2 separate regions of the Homo sapiens genome follow, and region 2 is linked to region 1. The links are contacts of gene promoters, found by promoter capture Hi-C in human tissues and cell types (Jung and others, 2019). All regions are on one chromosome and are shown on one strand. The core of a region is centred on a gene start or on the middle of the fragment in contact, and the rest is flanking DNA. Distances in the headings are between cores, read along the strand shown. Region 1 holds the start of MYO15A (myosin XVA). Region 2 overlaps ALKBH5 (alkB homolog 5, RNA demethylase).

The links. Contacts are between HindIII fragments. The study calls those that stand out against the background at their distance.
Region 2: a contact is called between a fragment that was not itself captured here and the fragment with the promoter of MYO15A in region 1, in 5 of the 25 tissues and cell types used here (liver, lymphoblastoid cells, mesendoderm cells and 2 more).

Annotation. Positions count from the first base shown.
Region 1 is chr17:18,106,279-18,113,358 of GRCh38, reverse strand. MYO15A (myosin XVA) reads right to left here and starts at 4,603. Exons shown (of 66, transcript NM_016239.4): 1 at 4,535-4,603. DRG2 (developmentally regulated GTP binding protein 2) reads right to left here. Exons shown (of 13, transcript NM_001388.5): 12 at 6,873-6,926; 13 at 5,390-6,205. The coding sequence ends at 6,119. LOC105371566 (a long non-coding RNA gene) reads left to right here. Exons shown (of 3, transcript NR_164159.1): 2 at 2,281-2,507; 3 at 4,724-5,668. RefSeq lists an enhancer at 5,660-6,307. The HindIII fragment of the contact is 16,274 bases long and covers 1-7,080 here.
Region 2 is chr17:18,188,347-18,195,426 of GRCh38, reverse strand. It overlaps ALKBH5 (alkB homolog 5, RNA demethylase), which reads right to left. Exons shown (of 4, transcript NM_017758.4): 2 at 392-472. Among named protein-coding and RNA genes, the nearest start is that of ALKBH5, 8.1 kb to the right of the region's middle. The HindIII fragment of the contact is 6,402 bases long and covers 820-7,080 here.

The DNA of each region.
Region 1 (7,080 bases), core at 3,354-5,853:
CCCAGGCAATATAACGAGACCCTGTCCCTAGATAACAAACCGAAAAATTACAGGTGGCAAGCACCTGTAGGCCCAGCTACTCAGGAGGCTGAAGTGGGAGGATCGCTTGAGCCAGGATTTTGAGGCTGCAGTGAGTTGTGATCATGCCACTGCACTCCAGCCTCTGACACAGAGCAAGACTCTGTGTCAAAACAAACAAAAGAAATACAGCGCCAGGTGTGGTGGCTCACACCTGTAATCCTAGCACTTTGAGAGGCCAAGGTAGGCTGATTACCTGAGCTCAGGAGTTCGAGACCAGCCTGGGCAACACGGTGAAACCCCATCTCTACTAAAATACAAAAAAATTAGCTGGGTGTAGCAGCGTGTGCCTGTAGTCCTAGCTACTTGGGAGGCTGAGGCAGGAGAATTTCTTGAACCCGGGAGGCAGAGGTTGCAGTGAGCTGAGATCATGCTACTGCACTCCGGTCCAGGTGACAGAGTGAGACTCCGTTTCAAAAAAAAATAATAATAATACAGCAAAAGATACATAAGAAATTAATGAGAATAGTTATCTCACTGTAAATCTTTCTATATTAGTTTGATTTTTATCCATATGAATGCATTTCTGAGTCAAAAACCAAAAAAAATGTAACATTTAAAAGTGTAAATGTGGGCTAGGTGCGCTGGCTCACACCTGTAGTCCCAGCACTTCGGGAGGCCGAGGCAGGTGGATCACTCGAAGCTAGGAGTTCAAGACCAGCCCAGACAATATGGCAAAACCCTGTCTCTACTAAAAATACAAAAATCAGCCGAACATGGTGGTGCACACCTGTAATCCCAGCTACAGATATGCACAGTGTGGTGGCTGAGGCAGAAGAATCACTTGAACTCAGGATGTGGAGGTTGCAGTGAGCCAAGATTGCACCACTGCAATCCAGCCTGTGTGACGGTGCGAGACCCTGTCCCCCACGACCCCCCAAAAAAGTGTATATGTGAAAATGGAAAAAAAAAGGGATTGGAGACTGAGTGGAAACACCACTTTAGAGGGGCTCTCAGGAAGAATGTCAGGGACCTGAGATGTCACAGGTCCAACCCCACCCCCACCCCAGTGTCATGTAACATTTGTTACATTTGTTGAAAGTGAAGCAGAGAGAGGTCAGAGACTTGCTGGGGAGAAGCAGGGCAGGGCTGGCCCTTCAGGCCCAAGAGCACCTCCCAGAGCCATACCTTCTGTCTGCCCCAAGTAGGGGAGCCTTGTCTGTCTGTCCAGAAGAAAGGCTGAGAGGCCACCATTCTCTAGCGGGCTTGCCCAAGTCCTGCCTCAAAGCCTCAGGCAGGCATCTTTCCACTGCAAAGCCCCATTGTCCAGATGAAGAACCTGCCTCTCAGAGAGGCAAGCCCAGCTCTAGCCCAGGGGACGTGGAGCCCAGTGGCTCAGAGCTCTGGGTCAGGTCTCATTCCTCTCCTGGATCTGACCCATAGCAAGTCATGCAGCCTCAGCGTTGGAGTCTCCTCATCTGTGAGTGTAGATGCCTCCCTTACCAGGGCTGACCTGGGCATTACATGAGATAGCGGAGAGCTGGGCACAGTGGCTGGCCTGGGCAAGCAGCTGTTGTTATGACTGCCAACGTCATTGCTACAGGCTGCTGCCTGTCTGCTCTGAGTGAGGAGGTCTGGGTGACTGCTGGCAGCAAGTCCTGCCCACCTGATCCCTCCTGGTCTCTGGGTCCCAGGCTTGACCTCAGGATAGTAGTCAGCTGAGGCTGCCCCTTCTCTGGTAGGTTCCAGGTCCTGCCTTCCTCTCAGGGTCCCCATCCTCTGTGCAGGCACAGAGCGGGTGTCAGGGAGCAAGTCTCTCATTCATTCATTCCTTAAATATTACTTGTGCATTAGTTGTGCATCTATTATGTGCCAAGCACTGTGCAGGGCACTTGGGGTTCGCAGAGTTAAGTGGAACCAGACATGATCTCTGCTCTCATGGAGCTCCCTGTGTTGTAGGGGACACAGACTTTGTTTTTTTTTTTTTTTTTTTTTTTTTCTCTTTTGAGACAGGCTCTGGTTCCATCACTCAGGCTGGAGTGCAGTAACATAATCACAGCTCACTGCAGCCTCAAGCTCCCAGGCTCAAGCAATCCTCCCACCTCAGCTGCCCAAGCAGCTGAGACTACAGAGGTGGGCTACCACACCTGGCTAATGTTTTTTTGTAGAGACAGGGTCCCACTATGTTGCCCAGGATGGTCTTGAACTCCTTGCCCCCGGGCAATATTCCTGCCTCAGCCTCCCAAAGTGTTGGGTTTACAGGTATGATCCACTGTGCCCATCCTGGATGCAGACTTTAAGCAGAGTCACATCAACAAGAAGAGCTGTGAAGGTCAGGGCATGACCCACAGATGCCCAAACACTGCACTGGAGGTCCAGGAAGATTCTGCTGACAACGCAACCCTGAGCCAAGATCTGAAGGATAAGAGGGAGCTTATAACATGGAAGAAGGAACAGTATTCCTGGCAAGTGGAACAGCATGTGCAAAGGTCAGGTGGTAAGAGGGGCTTCAAGGACAGTCCTATGGCTGGAGCAGAGTGATTGAGGGCATGTGAAATGAGAGGTGGCCAGGGTGGCAGGCAGGGACTAGCCCAATGGCCGTGAAAGGGATGGGACTTTGGTCACTGTTTCGCATTTCCAGATGTTTACTATGTGCCAGGCTTGGTACTAAATGCTTTTCTGGAATATCTCACTAGATTCTCACATAGATGAAGGGCTTGATCTTAGAGAGGTTAGATCCCTCAGCCGAGAGCCCACAGTGAGGAAGCCATGGGGCCTGTGTCCCTGACTGCAAGACCTGTGCTCAGAACGGCCAGGCCACACAGACCTCAACTCTCACTACAACCTCCTGAAGTCGGTGTGGTTACTCTTCCCACTTTACAGATGAGGACATGGGCCCAGAGAGGTTATGTGAGTGACACAGCTTGAAGGTGGAGTTAAGCCTGGGCAGTCTGGCTTCAGAGTGTCCACAGTCTCAACCACTGCCTCACATGGCTTCTTAGAAAATATTATAAAAAGAAGCTCGGGCTGCCATGTGGAAAAGAATGGAGAGGGGACAATGACACAGCTGGGAGCATGCTGTGATGGTGTACAGCGGACACATTCAGGATGAGGTGAAACAGGCTGGCCCTGGTGAGAGGCTAGATGGGGCTGGGATGAGGGTGGAGACAAGTAGTCTTGGGGTTGGCTTGGTGCAGCTGGGGGGTGCGGGGAGTGTCTCTGAGGTGAGGCCGGGGGTATGGGAACGCCATGTTTGGTCTGGGACACGGTGGGCTTGGGATGGCTACAGGACAGTGCAGTGGAGAGTCAAAAAGGCTGCTCGGACCCAGGTCTGGCGAGATGGAAGCTGGAGGTCAGGTGAGCTGTCTAGGAGAGGGACAGAGTGGGAAGGAGAGGGTCTCGACTCGGCTTTCTTGCCAAAGGAGGGTTCCGAAATGAGAAACTGTGGAATCTAAGCTGGAGAGGAAGAAAGACGGAGAATGAGTGAACGCACACGTGTGGGACAGATAGATGAATATTCATGTCTTTGGCTCCTATGTACCTGAGTCTTCTAAAGCTGCAGGCCATACTACCCCCGGGAGGCTGCAGGGATGCCAGCTGGGAGATGAATGCAACTCTGCTGCCTGGGCATGGGCCTGAGTGAGGGTGCAGACCCCTGCCTGTGATCATCAGGGAGGGTGATGAGAACAAGGTGGCTGACAGGGTGAGGCCCAAGCCTGGAGCTTACCCAGGTGCGGGGATGGGAGGGTCAGAGACCTTTGGGGGGTCTTAGGGAGCTTCCCCAGCCCTAAAGGCACCGCAAGCTGCCACTTCACACTGACCTGGGCATACGCAGCTGCAGGATCCCTTGCTCGCTCTCTCACAAGCAAATGTAGACTGCGCAACCATCCTGACCACAGATCCAGAAAGCCCAGGACATAACAGAGCCGCAGTGCCTGCCCTGATCCACGCGCACACAGATCTAGCCCAGGAACAAGCCCATCCACGGTGAGGAACTTGTGGCCCAGTGGCTGGAGCCTCTCACCTGAGCCCTCACTGCCTGAGGACCCCCAGCCTCTGGCCTCATTTCCCACCCTTTGCCAGCCAGCCTTGGGGACAAAACAGGTCTGGATCTAATCCAAGGTCTGGACTCACCCTGACACCCTGTGAACTCAAGGCCTTCCCTACCTCACCCTGGGCCCAGAGCCCCTACCTGTAAAGTGGAAGTGGGAATGGCCACCAGCCAGGCAGAAACCCTCACTTAGGGCCTCATGGCCAGGCATCAGGACAGTCAGGAGAGGGGCCGAGGTAAGCCACAGAGGCCCTGCCTGTCTTGGTATCCCACCATCGCCAGGAGGGGACTGCATGGGCATCACACCCCTCACAGATGAACAAAGTGAGGCAGAGAAGGGCCTCAAGATGAGTTAGGGGCGAGGCCCCAGCTCTGCTGCTGCCCCTTCCCTTATCACCCCTGCAGCCTGGGATGCGAGGGTGGCCAGTGACAGACCCCAAGGACTCTAGGCTAAGGTCTCCTTACCTGCGTTCTGTGGCCTGCTCCCCGCCTGCATGCCGCCTCATGGGGGTCCTCTGGCTGGCCCAGGAGCACGGTTGGCCCAGCAGAGCAGCTCAGTGTTATGGGGAAGGGAGGCCCAGCCCACCACGCCGACCGCCTGGGGCCCTATGTATATTTAATGATGTCTATTATTCCTGTTTTGTCTCTGGAAAGGAGTGAGCAGCTGACAGGGGAGCCACGAACAGCCTGGAGAGCTGAGCATGGGCCTGCTCCACACTCCAGCGGGGCCCGAGGCCCCCGGGAACTCTACCCCTCCTGGCAGCCTCACAGAACCTGCTGCATCCATCTCAAAAGGCATACCTCCTCCAGGAAGCCTTCCCCGCTGCTCAGAGGTCTTAAATCCGGGGTCTGCACTCACAAACTGTGCAGCCTACACCAGCTTCTGGGGGACAGCAGAACACTGTGGGGGGCCTGGCACAGTCCCTGGCACACGGTAGGCACTCATCGAGCCCCTGCCAGCCCCTCTACTCCTGACTTCTGAGGCAACAGGAAATGACCCGCCACCTTGTTCTCACAGAGCCTCCCTGCCAGCCCAGATGGTCACAAGGGCCTCCTGGGATGCTGCCCACCTTGGCAGCCAGGCCCCTCCGGAGGGGCCAGTCTGGGCCTGACACCCCCGAACACCAACCCCCTGGGCAGAGCCTGCCTGTGCCTGGGTGAGGAACCCTGCAGTCTCCTTGCCACACAAGGCCTGGGTCTGCCTTGGGGCCCAGGCTGCACCCTCTCCGACCCCCAGGCCCAATGTCTGACCTGTGCCCACCTGACTCAACCTGGCTACTGTTCAGCAAGTTTACAAAGTGTTCTCAGTCTGAACAGGAACCGTTTTCAATCCTTTATTTCAGAAAGGAGAGCCAGGAGAACTGGGGACTTAGAAAATACAGATCCTAAACTCAAAAGTCCCTGCCCCAGGCGTGCAGAGCCAGGGTCCTGGGGTTTTGTGCTGGGCAGGGGCTGCCCTGGGAGGGGGAATACAGGGGGAGGCACTTTAGGACACCCCTTAGGCTGTGGAGGGTGTCAGCTGGGCCTTTGAAGCCACTAACCACTGGTTCCCATCATGGAGAGCCCTGTGTGGGGCACCCAAGGGGGTTTCCTCCTGGAAGGGCCCCCAACCCAAGTGTCAGAGAAGCTGGCAAGAGCTGAGGGAGTGAGGTGCCATGACAGCAGCCACAGCCTCCAGGGACCCAAACAGGCCCAGCTACCAGCCTGGCACTGAGCATGCCATCTGCTTTAGGCCCTGGCTGGCGGGCATGTGGGCAACTTGCTCCCTCAGTGCAGGGGGCTGGGAGGCACAGATGCAGGCTCAGCACTACAAACTCAAAACCCCCATGAGAGGGCTCAGTCTTATGGGAAATGCCTCCAACCGAGCCCCTTTGCCCCAACACACTCTTCGTCTGCCTACTGAAGAAACTTCTGTAAATAGCAGAGACTTGAGGGACCCCTTCCTGGGGTACGTGTATTTGTATTTTTCTGTTTGGGTGTTTGTGTGTCCCAGTGGGACCACCTCCCCAGGGAGACGAGGCAGGTGGGCGGGAGGCCCGGCAGGCGCCGTTACTTCTTCACGATCTGGATGACGTCCTCATGCTCCATGGTGTGGGTCAGGCCCACCCGCTGCGGACTGTACTTGGTGCTGGTGCCCTGGGTGAGGAATGGGGGCAGAGGGGTCACCTCAGCCTGGACTGGCCAAGGTCAAGGAAGATATCCCTGGGCGTGTGTGTCCTGAAGGGTAAATGCCATGGCATAAGGTGGGGGCCTCAGGCAGCAGGATGTCCGCAGTTGTCTGACCATCCCTGATCTCAAAGGTTGGGGAGGGCCAGGCACAGTGGCTAATGCCTGTAATCCCAGCACTTCTGGAGGTCAAGGTGGGAGGATCACTTGAGCTCAGGTGTTTGAGACAGCCTGGGCCAGATAGCGAAACCTTGTCTCCATGAAAAATTAGCCAGGCATGGTGGTGTGTGCCTGTAGTCCCAGCTACTTGTGATGCTGAGGTGGGAGGATCGCTTTTGCACAGATGTCGAGGCTGCACTGGGCCATGATCGTGCCACTGCACTCCAGCGTGGGAGACAGAGCCAGACCCTGTCTCAAAAAAAAAAAAAAAAAAAAACCAGAAAAAAAAAAGGGTGGGGAAGGCCCATGTCTACCCTGGGTTGGCATGTACATTCTATGGAGGACAGACACACAGACATGCCAATCCCCACAGGAAGGACAGGAACACCACGCAGAGAGTGTGAATGCCTTGCTTCATGCCTAACCCAGGGGCTGTCCTGGGTCTACCCCCCTGGTTGCTTTCCACCCAGAGACTCACCCACACCAGGGCGTACTTGAACTGGCTGGCGAGTGACCGGTGGATGCGGTGGCACTGGAGGACAGGAGAGAGTCAGGTAGAGAGGTGAGGCTTCACCTAACCCCATCCCAAGCTTGGCTGCACACCCAAAGCTCAGGACACAGGCCAAGAGGCAGGAGTTCCCGCGGCAGGTGCCCACACAGTCTGGGCCTTGTGTGGAGGACTGACG
Region 2 (7,080 bases), core at 2,771-5,270, 83 kb before region 1:
TTTAAAGCAGGCTGCTAAAGGCACAGTCTAAAAATAATCACCAAGAGTACGTGTAACAAATAAGAACGAAGGAGGTGAGGAATAGAGGCTAAGGGGTGGGGTGAGGTTTGGAAGAATGTTGCCCAAATCTTGTCTCAAGATTATACCCACAAATATTGGGCGTATATGCTTTTGCTCAGTCCTAAACTCCCTAAATAGAGTACTTAATTTTCTGATAAAACAACAAAACAACTTTATCCTCACAGGATTCAAATAAAAAGAGAACTTAACAGTTCTGCTCTCCACTCTGCCATGCCACTGATACATAGGAGCTGAGTTCTAAGTGGACCCAGAGCTACATCTCCAGACAGGCCTGCAGGTGAGGCAGAAGGTCAGACATCAAGGCACTTACTTCCTGAGGATGATGACTGCTCGGCGCTCCTTGATGTCCTGAGGCCGTATGCAGTGAGTGATTTCATCAGCAGCATATCCACTGAAAAGAAACACAGAACATGTGACCATGAAGAGTAGACAGACAACCAAAGTTCCTGGGGGATATAACAGGACAGGAACATGGCCTAGGTCTTACGGCTGCTCTCTACCCATTACTTGAGAGTTTCAAGGATCTACATGGAAGGGAATATCATATTAAGTTCCAGGATGCTTTTGCCAAGAGACTGTAATACTCAAGGAAAAACCTGGTATGACACAAAGGAGACCCCTTGGCCACTTAAGGCAGAGGCTGGAAGCAAGACTCTCCCTGAACAGGCCAGGAACCCTTTTTTAAAAGGGTACTCCAGAGAGTACACTGTAGCTCCTCCTCATTCTCCCTCCATTTAGCAGGTAGAGAAAGCCAAGGCAGCCACTGATAGCACTGAGTCACCAGGGAGAGCTAGGACTGCCTCATTCCAAAATAGAATATCTACATGAAGTCTCCATTTGGGGGGATCCAAAATTTTGAAGACAGTTGTGTTTGAATATTTTAAGAATTTCCGGCTGGGCGTGATGGCTCATGCCTGTAATCCTAGCACTTTGGGAGGCCGAGGTGGGCGGATCACCTGAAATCAGGAGTTCGAGACCAGCCTGGCCAACATGGCGAAACCCCATCTCTACTAAAAATACAAAAATTAGCCAGGCATGGTGGTGGGCGCCTGTAATCCCAGCTACTTGGGAGGCTGAGGCAGGAGAATCGCTTGAACCTAGGAGGCAGAAGTTGCAGTGAGCCAAGATCACGCCCACTGCACCTGGGCAACAGAGCGAGACTCTGTCCCCACCACTGACCCCCACCCCCTGCCCCCCGCCCAAAAAAAAAGGATTTCCATCATACTCAGATATCTGTTTATTTTCAACAAGTTACATGACTTTTAAAACCGCTCAGAGACCAACTAATGTGGGTAGATGACTGTCCTCTTCTCAGCTAGCGTCATTCCAATTTGAAACTCTGGAAGCAAGCTCTGAGCTTCCTATACCCCTCACATGCTATCACTGGAAGCATGGCAGCCACAAGATACTCCCACTCCAAGTTACTCTACTGAGCTGCAGCAGTTCTACACACCCAGAAACTCAGCCACAAGCCTAGTAGGACAAGTATGGCTTAGTTTCCCTACCTGGCCCTGTACCACAAACCCTTCTCTCATGGCTGCTGATCAGCTCCCTTCTCAAAGGCTAGTTGTACAGACACAAACTTAACTATTAAAAACACTGCAGGCCTGGGAAGGACCCCTCAAGATGGCCAGGCTGGCCAAACCTCAGCTCTAATAACTGGATGCAAGAGCCAACAAGAGATAAAAAGCCAGACTGCTTCAGGCTCAGCCTTAAGGAAGCACCTCTGATTTGGAAATCTGATTTGAGCTCATGCTGGGGATAGAACAAACCTTTATTTTATTTAATTTTTTTTTTTTTTGAGACAGTCTCACTCTGTCACCCAGGTTGGAGTGCAGTGGCACAATCTCGGCTCACTGCAACCTCTGCCTACCGGGTTCAAGCGATTCTCCTGCCTCAGCCTCCCAAGTAGCTGGGACTACAGGCGCACCCCACCACGCCTGTCTAATTTTTGTTATTTTCAGTAGAGATGGGGTTTCACTATGTTGGTCAGGATGGTCTTGAACTCCTGACCTCGTGATCCGCCAGCCTCGGCCTCCCAAAGTGCTGGGATTACAGGTGTGAGCCACCGCGCCCGGCCCAAACCTTTATTTTATAGATCCACCTTCTCCCTCAAGCTGCTCCTAGACAAGAATTTTTCAAAATTTTCTCCATGAACACCAGTCCCATAAGAGACAGTAGACAGGCTAGGCACGGTGGCTCACGCCTGTAATCCCACCCAGCACTTTGGGAGGCCAAGGTGGGCATGTTGCCTGAGGTTAGGAGTTCGTAACCAGTCTGGCCGACATGGTGAAACCCCGTCTCTACAAAAATACAAAAATAAGCCAGGCATGATGGCAGGTGCCTGTAATTCCAGCTATCGCAGAGGCTGAGGCAGGAGAATCGCTGAACCTGGGAGGTGGAGGTTGCCGTGAGCCGAGATAGTGCCACTGCACTCCAGCCTGGGTGACAGAGTGAGACTCCGTCTCAAAAAAAAAAAAAAAAAAAAAAAGAAAAAGACAGTGGACGAATGTCTACAGTGAAATCAATTTGTAAAATACTGATTAGAGTTTCAAAAAGCATTAATATATTTAAAGCACATGAGAATTACTACAGCAAAAGAACCCACTGACTTTGAGCACTTACCAAAGAACCTTCTCTCATAATACCTATTAATACCCATCAGCCCACAGTGAGAAGTACCACACAGGAGTTAGTGAGTTGAAGAGACCTGGGTTCAAATGTGAGCTTTGTCTCCTACTAGCTTTGTGACCTTTGTTAAATCACATGCTGAACCTAAAAACCTGTACAGTTTCTTCATCTGTAATAAGGAGAACAGTAGGTTCTTGGGTATTCATTTTGTTATGCTTTATAATTTAGCTATTCTTTTGCTGCTACTAATATTACAAGATTTTAAAAATGGGGACAGTTTTAAAGATTACAAGATTAAAGTTTTTAAGATTACAAGATTTTAAAAACGGGGCCTCCTCCCTTCCAGGCAGAAAAACAGCATTATATGACTACTTGGTTGACACTCCTGGAAAGGGGTGGTGAGAGGCCTACCTGCAGGGGTATTGCGAGAATTAAGTCAGATAATGCAGGGTGCCTGACACCCTACAATCTTTACTAAGCACTCTGACAAAAGTCAGAGGGCCCTGGACTATCCTGGGGCAAGCCAGAGCCCTGGATTCAGCATCTGCCAAAGAGACATGGTCTGGGCTCCCCCTGCAGGGATCTGCCAGTAGTGGGGGCCGCCTGGGCCCCATTTCCAGAGCTAGGAACTCTAGTTCTCATCCCATGCTTTTATCATTCCACACTGGGGGAATGGGGGTCTAGACTGCAAGACTGTCCCATATAGACACACAATACTTTCCCAAAGAGCTGTCAAAGGTCTCAAAGGCACTTTTTTTTTTTTTTAAAGACAGAGTCTCACTCTGTTGCCCAGGCTGGAGTGCAGTGGCATGATCTTGGCTCACTGTAACCTCCACGTCCCAGGTTCAAGCAATTCTCCTGCCTCAGACCCCCAAGTAACTGGGACTACAGGCTAATTTTTGTATGTTTAGTGAAGACTGTTTCCCCATGTTGGCCAGGCTGGTCTCGATCTCCTGATCACACGTGATCCACCCACCTCGGCCTCCCAAAGTGCTGGGATTACAAGTGTGAGCCACCATGCTCGGCCCCAGAGGCACGTTTCTAAGTCCTGAATCTGCAGTGCTGGCTACAGGCAACCTTCCCTGCCATTGACAAGTGTTATCAATCTGTTTGACTTGGCTATATGCATAACCAAGGGCCCTGACTTCCCATCTCCAACAAGGAACCACTTTTCTTAATGCAGTTCTGGAGCAAATCCAGATGTTTGTCAAAGCTTGACTGCCCGCATGCTCCCTGACCCCATCCCCCAAAGGGCTCTAGAACAAACAATAAGCCATGTCAGGTTCCTGCCACGGAGCCCAGGCCTTGGAAGAACTAGTATGGAGGTAGGGCTGCACAGGCCCACAAAAATGACTTTGGCACTGACCCAACCTGGAAGGCTTATTAGTACTGGTCTTCTAGAACTTCCTAGCAGCTATGACACAGCCCACTGACCCTTTCCTCAGAATATCCGGCTGCTCTGGCAACATGAGCTCAAAGTCCTGATTAAGGGAAGCTCTCCTGGCCAATCTCACAAAATGTCGAGCAGAGACCACAGGGTATTATTTACTATTAAGGAACCTACTTGCTACAAAATAAATTGTCTGAAAGTCTCAGTCGGCCAGCTTGCAACTTAATATGCCCTTGGGTCCAGCCCTACTGCTGGCATGAAAAGTTCCAGGACCTCCTGCTTTTTTGTTTTCACAGGGAAAGGAGAAGAGGAAATAACCTTATGCCATCTGGCTTGCCTGCTCCCTCTCTGGGCTGAGCCCCCAGCCCCAGCCCCAGAGGCACTGACCAGTATATGTTGCAAATGTCACCCACTAGTCCTATACCTCAGAGTGACTCTCGAAGGAGCTGACATGTCTATCTCCTCTTTTGGGGGCCTTTCCCTGACTGCCCAGGCTGGGTTCCCCCTACATTGCTCAACCACACCCTCTCATGCCTCTTTGCTATTCCATCTGGCCTTGTGGAAATTGTGTCTTCCCTTCAAGACAAAGCTCTTCAAAGGCCTTACTCATCCCTGCACAGTGGACACTAAATGAAATGTGTGTTGAGCTGAACTATTCTACCACTTAGAACCTGTTTCTGCCTCTGCAAAACAAAGATCACAGCAAGCCCCTCCTCAGAAGATTAGGTGCAAATTAAATGAGGTGTCTGAAATTTTTTTTTTTTTTTTTTTTTTCGGAAACAGAGTCCCACTCTGTTGCCTAGGCTGGAATGCAGTGGCGCAATCTTGGCTCACTGCAACCTCTAGCTCCTGGGTTCAAGCAATTCTCTGCCTCAGCCTCCCGAGTAGCTGGGATTACAGGTGCCTGCCACCACGCCCGGCTAATTTTTGTATTTTTAGTAGAGACGGGCTTTCACCATCTTGGCCATTCTTGTCTTGAATTCCTGACCTCAGGTGATCCACCCGCCCTGGCCTCCCAAAGTGCTGGGATTACAGGCATGAGCCACCGCACCTGGCCCTGAAAAATTCTTTAAAGAAACTATGCAGGACTGTACATCTCTCCTCTAGGGGACGGTCTTGGAAACTGAGTTGTTATGACACATTTCCAAGATGGCCACCATTTTCCATCTACTCCATGCCCTGCCTAGGCCAGGATGAACCAGAGATGGAGGGACTGTCCAAGATCCCAGCCTGGTGACTGTCTCTCTCCAGCTATGGCTACCTGCCTTACTGACAGACCCACAGGACCAAGAAGGTCAGGCTTTTGGGGGCAGCAGACCAGCCACCTGGACCCAGGGGCAGGATTGTGAGCTCAGGCTCAATTATTTACCAGACCCAAGCCTCCAAGACGACCCATGGCCTAACTTTATAAGAAGTCCTGGGGCTTTCTGAATCCAGAGGGAAGGTCAACCTGCCAAGTCCCAATTCTGTACACACCAAGATAGACAGTACTAAACACAGAAGGTAGCCCATCTCCTGAGACACTTTTAGCTAAATTTCAAGCATTCAATAGATGACAAAGATTCAACTTTCTATAACAACTCTATAGCATCATTAGACTGGTTTTGCAGATGAGGAAAACTGAGGCCTCAAAAAGCTTAATTTCCCCGAAGTCAACGAGTTAAAATGGTGGTGCTGTAACTCCAACCAAGTCTGCTGTCAAACTTTCTGGATTTTGTTGTGGAGGCGGTAGGAAGAAAAGCCCATCTGTGTTTCCTGGTAGCAAGCCTGTCCAGGGGGCCTTGCTGGCCTCACCAAAGGGCACACGTACACCCACTAGCCCCATGAAAGAGATTTGCAGAGATGAACCTATATCCCCCAGAGAGCTAGCACTGTATCAGTGAAGGCTATCCACCAACTGGCCAGCCAGCTCTGAATTTTCTTTTTCTTTTTTTTGAGACGGAGTCTTGCTCTGTCGCCCAGGCTGCCAGGCTGGAGTTCAGTGGCATGATCTCGGTTCACTGCAAGCTCCGCCTCCCGGGTTCGTGCCATTCTGCCGCCTCAGCATCCCAAGTAGCTGGGACTACAGGCGCCCGCCACCACACCCAGCTAATTTTGTTTTTTGTATTTTTAGTAGAGACAGGGTTTCACCATGCTAGCCAGGATGGTCTCGATGTCCTGACCTCGTGATCCACCCACCTCGGCCTCCCAAAGTGCTGGGATTACAGGCGTGAGCCACCGCGCCCGGCCTTGAAATTTTTTTTTTTATTATTTTTTTTGAGACGGAGTCTCACTCTACAGCACAGGCTGGAGCGCAAGGGCTCGATCTCGGCTCATTGCAACCTCCGCCTCCCGGGTTCAAGTGATTCTCCTGCCTCAGCCTCCTGAGTAGCTGGGATTAGAGGTGCACACTACCATGCCCGGCTAGTTTTTGTATTTTTAGTAGAGATGGGGTTTTACCATGTTGGCCAGGTTGGTCTCAAACTCCTGACCTCATGATCCGTCCACCTTGGCCACCCAAAGTTCTGGCATTACAGGCATGAGCCACTAAGCCTGGCCAGCTCTGAAATTTTTATGGCCTATTTATTCTCTGCTTGCTCTGAGCTTCATGATTAACACCATGGTTCACTGTTAGCTTCCTTTCTTTTACTGCCCTCTGCCTTGTCAGGCTCTGGCAGCAGCAAGGGCAGCCAACCCCCCTGGCCCAGAGCTCCTCCTGACGGTGCACAGCCCTGACTTCATCCTGTGGTTCCTCCCCCTCCAGTGGAATCAGAAGAGTCCACACAAGAGATGTGGCCCAGGACCTATCTGCCCTACTTTCCCAACTATTTTAAGCCAGAAAGCTAAATTTTGCTTTCAACCAGCTGAACAAGATCAGACTATCCCAGAACTGACAGGGGTGCCCACTCCACCCAATACCAACCGTTAACTGGAAGAGTCACAGGCTGAGCTCACCAGTGCATGCCCCGTGCCTGGGTGATACAGTCATTTCCAGACGG